2 separate regions of the Homo sapiens genome follow, and region 2 is linked to region 1. Evidence: promoter capture Hi-C in 16 types of primary human blood cells and fetal thymus (Javierre and others, 2016). All regions are on one chromosome and are shown on one strand. The core of a region is centred on a gene start or on the middle of the fragment in contact, and the rest is flanking DNA. Distances in the headings are between cores, read along the strand shown.

Region 1 (4,098 bases), core at 642-3,141:
AGTGTAGCCTTAGTCTCTGACTCTTTTGTAGTCTCCAGATGAGCCACCCTGCCTTTGTTAATCTCAATCACCTCATCTATAAAATGGGCAGGTCACTACCCTCTCTTGGGGCAGTTATGAGGGTTAAAGGAGGGGCCTTGGGAAGACACTCTGGACAGCAGCGAGCCGTAGTGTTGTCTGCTAGTGTGGGGGCTGACACTTGTTGAACACTGACCTGATGTGCTTTTTCTCCTTTCCAGGCAAGAATCAATATTAATTAGCCCACTTAACAGATGGCACCCAGAGAGGACAAAAACCTGCCTGGGTCATGCAGTTAGAAAGTAGTGGAGCTAGGATTTGAACCCAGGTCCCTCTAAGCCCCATGTGCTTCCACTGCAGAGGCCTCCAGGTGGGGAGGCAGTATTTGCATGGAGGCCTCATGCACCATGCCAGGTGGAGTCTCAGACCTCAGTCTAAGGCATTATCAGAGAGCTGCAGCCCTGGAGCCTTCAGGCCTGGCCTCCTCCATCTGGCCCCCTCTGGTCCTTCCAGCTCAGCTCAGGGCCTCAGGGAAGGTTTCTGAGTTTGATGATGCTATTAGAGATCCCCAGGGGTCTCTGCCCACCTGAGGACCTGGGAGCCAGTGACCCCTTGCTCCCAGGAGGGGCTGGCACCACAGCCCAGCTGGAGCCTGGCTGGGGTGGTGCCCCAGGAGAGGGGAAGGCGCCAGTTCTCGAGATGGGGAAACAATGGGGTATGTCTAAGCCTCCCTCTCTAGGCCGGGAGCAGTGACTTCGGCCTCTTCCTCCCCACCAACTAGGGTTCAGAATTATGGGGGAGGTACATCTATTCCTCCTCCACACAACACTCACCCCTCACTTCTCTGAAATGCATCGGGCCTAACACCAGATTGGGGGGTGGGGGTGGTGGAATAGGAGCTCAGGTCAGGGTTCTGGGTATTTACCCCAGCAGGGATCCCCTCGACACCCTCGCTGGCCCTGGCTACTCCAGAGCCGAGCCGACTTCCCTTCCCGCAGCCGGGCCTAGGATTCCCCTGGTTGAGGCTGAGCCTTCAGCGCCTGCCCTGAGAGACACACCTGCCTAGGTCGGTGCTGCCCAATCCAGAGAGGGGCCCGGCCACGCCAGGCCTGGCAGGTAGGCCCATCTGGCCAGGCAGGGCTCGGGGAGGGGCTCAAACATCCTCCTCCCAGCACCAACAATGTCGTTGCCCCAGGAAACTGCGACCCGCGCCCCTCCAGGCTGTTCCCAGCTCTATTCACAGGCTAAGATGCAGCCTGCCTGCCCGCTCCGGGATCGCAACCCCGACCCCAGACCCTGCCGCAGCCCGGAGGTTGGGGAGAAGGAGGCCTCCGAGCCCCCTCCTCCAATTCCAGCGCAGACCTCCCAGCCTAGGACCAGGAATGGCGGAGGGAACAGCCTCGTGAACATGCAACGGCTACCAGTCCGGACTTGAGGCTGGCGGGGCTTCTGAGGGGGGCTCTGTCCCGGGAAGAGACCCCACTCCCACGCAGCCCTTTCGTTCCCGGGTTCCCGAGGTTCTGGGGTGGGGGGCGGGCAGGGCAGCCAATGCGGATCAGTCCCCGCTGAAGGGCGAGGCGCGCGGCGGCCGGGGACTCTCACCTGAAATTGGGAGGCGAAGCGATGTGCAGCCCCAGGAACGGGGAGGCGGCGGGCGGGGACGCGGCCCCCCCTCCCAGGCCGCCGCTTTCTCGCTCCGCCATTCTCGGGCACAGCCCTGGCCATCCGGGCGGAGCGCGGCGCGGAGGAGGCGGCGGCTGCGAAGGAGGCGGAGGCGCGGCGAGAGGGCAGCCGCCGCCGCGGAGTTCGGGCTAGGCGGGCGCACCTGTGTCTGGCAGGGCGCGGCACAGCACCGCGCACGGCCCGCGGGACTGGCGAGAGCGCCCCGCGCGCGCCCCCGGGACCCGGCCGGGGTCTCGCGCGCCCCGCCCAGGCCCCGCCCCCACCCCGCCAGCCCCGCCCCCGGAGATGGCGCTCTCCGCGGTGCTGAAGCCACGGCCCCCGCGGCCCTGGGCTTGGTTCAGCCCCGCCCTAAATCCGACATCGACTCTCCTCCACCCCGTGGCCGGTGTGGGCTTTGTCCCTCCGGTTGGGCTTAGTGCCCGGGTATCAGATGACTAATGGCAGGACACTGGACCCCAAGGTCCAGGTTGGCCCCCCGCAGCAGAGACCAAGAAGGCAGGCGGAAAAGGAGGGTCGTGGAGGAAGGCAGAGAAAGGAGAGGATGTCAGTGGGCTCTTAAAGTGTACAGGTTTGGAGTCAGGTGGTGTGAATTCACTGGCTCCACAAGTGACTGGGCAGTGGGGCCTTGCATTAGTGACTTCAGAGCACTAAGGTTTGGTCTTCTTATCTGTGAAATGGGACAATAGCAGTCCCTCTCATGGTTGTTGTGAGAATGTAACGTAACACAAATGTGTTGCCTGAGACCCAGAAACACTCCACCTCCTGCGCTGGGATCCAGCCCTCACCCCAGTCCTGTCCCTTTACCTTGAGGGGACCCTCCCAAAGACTCTCCCTAGAGGCTGTCTTCTCTAAAGATTGACCCAAATCTCTCTTCAGCCCCAAACAGCTACTCGTGGTGAATTGAGCCCTCCAGGCTTCTCGGTCTCTCGCCAGGACCTTCCCAGCATTCTCCTTCTTAGCGCCTCAACTGCATTTCCTGCAGAGCACCCCTCTTCTGCACCCACAGACACACATTCTAAGACTTGGCGCCTTTCCCTCTCCTCCCACTGTTGACTTCTTGGGATCATTTTGGTTGTTTCTGTTCCCTCTGGCACCTCCATCCCTGCTAGGCTTTGGCCATGGCTTCTTCCTCATTGTCTCTCCCTCGAGAGGGTGTTATTCCTGGGCTTCCAGGCCTTCAAGTCCCTGAGTTTCCCGATTGAGTTATTTCAGAGTACGGACTGCCAAGGCTAGGGCCTTAGCTTTGCTGGGTCGTAGAGCCTCTGGTCAAACCTCATTGGCTTCTCTGGTCTCTCGAGAGAACCCTAGAGACCCTGTCCACAGGGCAGAAAACGTGCAGAGCAAACTGTGCCACAACTCGTGGAGTCCTATTTGCAAATCTGGACTGCCGACCAGTCATGCTGGCCCCTTTCCTTCAGTGCGGCACCTAGCAAGGAGCTGGAGGCACCTTCCGTGCAGAAGGCAACCTCCGACCACCAGCCCTGAGAATATCCCAATACCTAGAGCCAAAGGTCATGGCTGCTTCTCTTTTCCCTGTCCCTGGGGCCCAGAGGGGTGGCCACTACTTTCTCAGCTTTCGTGATCAGGCCCCTTTCACTGGGCCCTCACGGTAATCATCTGCTGCCATGGTGCCTGGCTTTTCCTCTCAGGAAAGCAGTCTTGCCATCATGGCTACTAATCGTTCCTTAGAATGTAGACCTGCCTCAGCTAGGGAACATCCTTAGCAGGTCAGGGGTGGATGTAAAGGACAACTCCCTCTTCCAGAACCTTTTGCTCAAGAGCAAAGTTATCTTAGCTCCAAAGACCAACCCAAAGCCATTATTAGAGAGAAGCCAGAAGGGCAAGAAGGAAAGGCAGGCCCAGGTCTTGGTATGAGGGAGGCCAGCAGGAGCTTCAGAGCAGAGCCAAGAATGAGACAAGTTCCCAAGGCAGGTTCCTCCCCTTTTCTCCTTCTTCACTCTGTGCAGGCCAGACTGTGATATTCTTGGGCCTTGCCTGGGCCCCTTCCCAGAAAGTTGGGGTGTGAGCTAATAAAGCTTTCAGTCCAAGGCTAGCATCCCCTAGCATGGAAGCAGGGCACACTGCACAGAGAGGGGCCATTCTCTGGCCAGGAGACAAAGCCAGCATCCAGGCGCCCTAGGCTTGGCTGTGGGCAGATCTCAACCACCTAGTCACAGCCAGAGAGCCTGCATCCCCTCCTCACCACAGGCTGCAGCTTAAGTGGCTGCATTGAATTAAAGGATGGATTGAGGGCGTGGAGCAGGCCCTGCACTGACTGACCCCCAGCCTGGGAGGGGGTTTAAGTGGGCTGCAAGGCTGGGTGGCACTGCAGGATGGCACTTAGGACCCTCACTCTGGGCCAGAGTGCTCTGTACTATTTTGGCCAATTGACCCCCA
Region 2 (4,098 bases), core at 837-3,336, 120 kb before region 1:
ACTTTGACTTTGCATTTTCTGAGATCTTTGAAAATACATATTGTTAGTACCTGTTGATTTGTATTTTGTGCCTTTGAAGGAAAGAATAGAAATATTATTCCAAGGGAGGGTTGTTGGTCTTAAAATATTTTTGTGCCATTTTTATTGTAGGCAAGTATATCACATTCTAATAGGCGTTTAAGACAGTTCAATACTTAATACAAGTGTATCTTTTTAAATAAGACATTTGACCAGCTGAATAGATTGTAGTAACCTGTTGTAAACTAGTTTCAGCTGAAATCTCACTGATCCCACTAGATGGCGTTAGTTCATTAAGGCATAACTTCATCCTCTAGCTCAGGCAGACAGCTGCCTGTGTAGATGAACTGATTTTAGTATCTTTAGAGAGTGAATGTGGCAGTAAACTTTTAGACTCCTTGTTATTTATATAGCGTGATTTGTGGAGGTTATTCAGAAAGTTTAGGAAGATAGAACACTGAGGGCAGATTTATTCAAACTAAAGAACTATAACAAGTTGCAATATTTCGTTAGGTGCTTATTAATTCTGGATTTGACTTAGCCTTTGCCCTAATTGTATATACAACCGAAAGATTAAGAATTTACTGATTTCTCATGGTTTTTTGCCCTATTAAAATAATTCTTGTTTGGGCTTCTGGAAGCATTGGAAAACAAATGAAAATTGGGAGTACACATTTTTTAAAGCATGAAGTTTATAACATTTAATTTTAAAATCATTTGGCTCTTATTTATAGGAACTATGTCAACAGTGATCTACTTGTCAGTTAATCTGGTTCTTTAATCGTAAATGTAAAATAACAGTGAACATCCTAATTCTTTAATTCTCTCTTGTCTGAATTTGAATTATTTTTTATCTACAAAGACTGTTTTATATTAGACCAGCCCATTTTCAAAGTTTAAAATTGTGCTTTTCCACAGGCATTTGTAGGCTCCAAATAAACTTTTAAAATTGTATGTTTTATTTTTCTTACTGTTCTTGAGAGTTCTGAAGTTGAAGTTTTTTAAAGAAATGAATACGATTCACATGCAAAAAAAGCATTTCCACATTTCATTAGAAGTGTTTCTTTTTTCTTTATGATCAGATTCATACAGCTAGAGTAAATTGTTTCAGAATTGGTGGGATGATCCGTCTTGAGCTATGGAAGCTTAATTGTGCTACAAATATTATTCTTTTATTCATTGCTCATAGGGAGTAAGTAGTTGGTGCTGATGGTTCCCCTAATGTTTATTTAACTATTCCAGTATAAGGCAGTTCACATTTCTTAGTAAAAGGATCGTTGATAGTTTCATTTACCTAGTATGTAATAAAAAGCTGAGAATAATCAGGGGCATTTGCTAATGGAGTCAAAATAACCTGTTTTATAAGTCAGAACAGGAAGGTCTGAACATTTGGTGCCCATTAATTAAGTTAATATTGCAAATGAGGTTTTTGCTTTTCTTATTATCTTGAAACCTTCAACCAGAAAAAGCAACTGCCTAAGATTATTTGGTATATACAAGGCGTTAATATATTGTGCAAATATTCTACAGTCTGAAAAATCTCAAAATCTGAAACACTTCTGGTCCCAAGCATAAATTTGTATAAATTTTATACAATATTTTACATCATTTTGTACATGAAACAAAGTTTTGACTGCATGTTGACTATGATCTATCACTTGAGGTCAGGTGTGAAGTTTTCCAGTTGTGGCATCACGTCAGTGCTCAAAAAGTTTTGGATTTTGGAGCATTTTGGATTTCAGATTTTTCAGATTAAAGATGCTCAACCTGAATTTTTGGACTGCGGTTGCTCTTGGTAACTGAGCCTGCAGAAAGTGAAATTACTGATGTGGGGGACTGCTGTATTAGTTGGGTGTATACATGCATGTGTTAAAATTTAACTGCATAATCTCATTTTCCATATTCAGAGACATTTGCAGTAAGAGACAAATATTATTGTAAAGGGAAAAAGTAAACTTTGTTGTGTAGTGCTTATCTGTTTCCCTGTGTTTTTTCTTGAGGGTAGCCATGATAAAGAAGGGGAATAAATTTCGAACACATGTAAGTATGTGTGTAGTGAATGGGAGAGAGGGAGAGATGGTATTTTCAGGAGGCATAAACTGTATTTTACAAAGACATCTTTTAGATGATGAGTCCTTTAGTCTTGAGGAGACAGTTCAATGGAAAGCATTCTAGGCCTGGCAGATACAGCCCTCATCCACAGTAAAAGTTAAGTGCTATGAAAAAGTAATAGTCTGTGCTATGCAAACCAATATGAAGAAAAGTGAGTTTTTGTTTGATAAGAGGTCAAATGAGCACAGTTCTTTAAAACTTTTATGTTGAAGAAAAGAATAGAGAATATTCTGTCATAGCTACTGATAAAATATTTCAGTTTATGAAATATTGTCACTTACATGTTTTAAGTAGCTTTTAATATAATCTTAGAACAAGGACTTCCTTCTCTCCTCTACCCCTTCCCTACTCCCCAGTGTCTCTTATTTCTTATCTATTAAAAGTGAAATCCATTTCCTTTGGTCAAAAGTACAAGTTTTTTACAGTGTCCAAGACATCTCAAATTGATTCACTTTGTTATATAGAAAACACCATCTGTGATGTCAGACCATTTCTTAGAAAATTGACTGTTAAGAGCTCTTTTGCATTGAGTTATTTGGTTTTTATGAAGATGAACATTGGATGAAATTTCTTACCAGTATGCATAATTCAATGATTTTAAGAATCTATGGAAAATAAATTTAAACATTTTTAAATGAAATGGGATAAGAAAAAGGGGAGACAGGATTTTATTCATTGGTATATCTTTTTAATTTTCTACTTTGTGACTCCGTTTAAAAAAACCAACTCTGTAATTTTGAAGCAGAGATTCTGAAATTACCACTTTTCTAAAAATATCACTTACAGCTGAAACTTAATATATTGAAGCATTTTTGTTCTGAGGATGATACATATTTTCATAAAGATGTATTTCCAAATGGAAACAGCACTGAAGCTTCTGAAATAGGGAACCTTTCCAAAATAGGCTGTGGTTGCCTGGGTGAAGAATATTAGGTTGCAACACTCAAAAAGGAAATCCTGGCATAGGAAGCAATTGATGAAGGGCAAATGTCTGCAGAGTGTAATGAAGCTTTTAAAAGCACTTGTGTGGGCCTGCATGCAAGGCCTTGCCAGTACTTTTCAAATTAAAATTCATGTGCTCTGTAGTGTGCTGAGCCATACTCATACTTCCATCTTTACTTCTCTTCTACATAATATATCATTCTTATTTTTAATCTTCTATAAGTACTAGTCATCATCCTAGTGAGAATTGTAGCGTTTTCTCACTCTGCCCTTCGTGAAAATGTCATCATCATTATGGGCAGCAGGGCAGCTTTATGGTGTTTTAAAAATCAAGTTCATCAGCATTTTTAAGCTATCAATTTCTTGTTTTAGTGTCATTAGTACTATGAATATTGAATATTTTATGACTCTTTAGTTTTATAAAATATTTTTTTCTTTTAGCAGTGGGGGAGAGGATAGGTATTATCCTCATTTTGTAACAGTATTAACACCGAAGAGAGTCTGAGTGATGACTAGACACATAGATGGTGTGAAAAGAAAACTTGGCATTTTTTTTTTTTTTTGAATGTTAGCCTTTAACCCAAGCTCTTTCCTCCATACACTATATGCACAAAGTTTTTAGGACTTTTTTTAGTGGCACTCTCATATACAGATTTTCTTTTCAAAGCAAGAAATAATCTGAGCTTTAAAAAGATTCTATTGAGGAAATTATTCTACTCCTGTTTTTATAGTCTCAGAATGTCTCAAGATAATTTTAAATGGGTTTGTGCTATTTGGGGGAGAAGAGAAAGTCACAGAAACTTACCTGATTTTGCAAATCCAAAACAGTTAGAAATCATAGTATTCAATCTTTAGAAAAATTTCTGTAGCAGATATTTATCCAATTAATTCATTTTATTTGAATTCATTTAATTTGAGCTGTGTTTTAAGTAAAAAGGTATCAATGATCTACTTAATGTTAAATACATTGGGTGTTTTTTTGTTTTGCTTTGTTCTAGAGACTTTTTTTTTCATTACAAATTTCGG

What was found. Contacts are between HindIII fragments. The CHiCAGO score rates a contact against its expected background, and 5 or more counts as called.
Region 2: a contact is called between a fragment that was not itself captured here and the fragment with the promoter of MAPK8IP1 in region 1, in 1 of 17 cell types (naive B cells). The highest score is 5.5, in naive B cells.

The regions. Positions count from the first base shown.
Region 1 is chr11:45,883,444-45,887,541 of GRCh38, reverse strand. It overlaps MAPK8IP1 (mitogen-activated protein kinase 8 interacting protein 1), which reads right to left and starts at 1,891. Exons shown (of 12, transcript NM_005456.4): 1 at 1,621-1,891. The coding sequence starts at 1,721. RefSeq lists a silencer at 1,630-2,029. The HindIII fragment of the contact is 6,698 bases long and covers 1-3,739 here.
Region 2 is chr11:46,002,821-46,006,918 of GRCh38, reverse strand. All of the region lies in intron 6 of PHF21A (PHD finger protein 21A), which reads left to right. Among named protein-coding and RNA genes, the nearest start is that of LARGE2, 82 kb to the right of the region's middle. The HindIII fragment of the contact is 1,841 bases long and covers 1,166-3,006 here.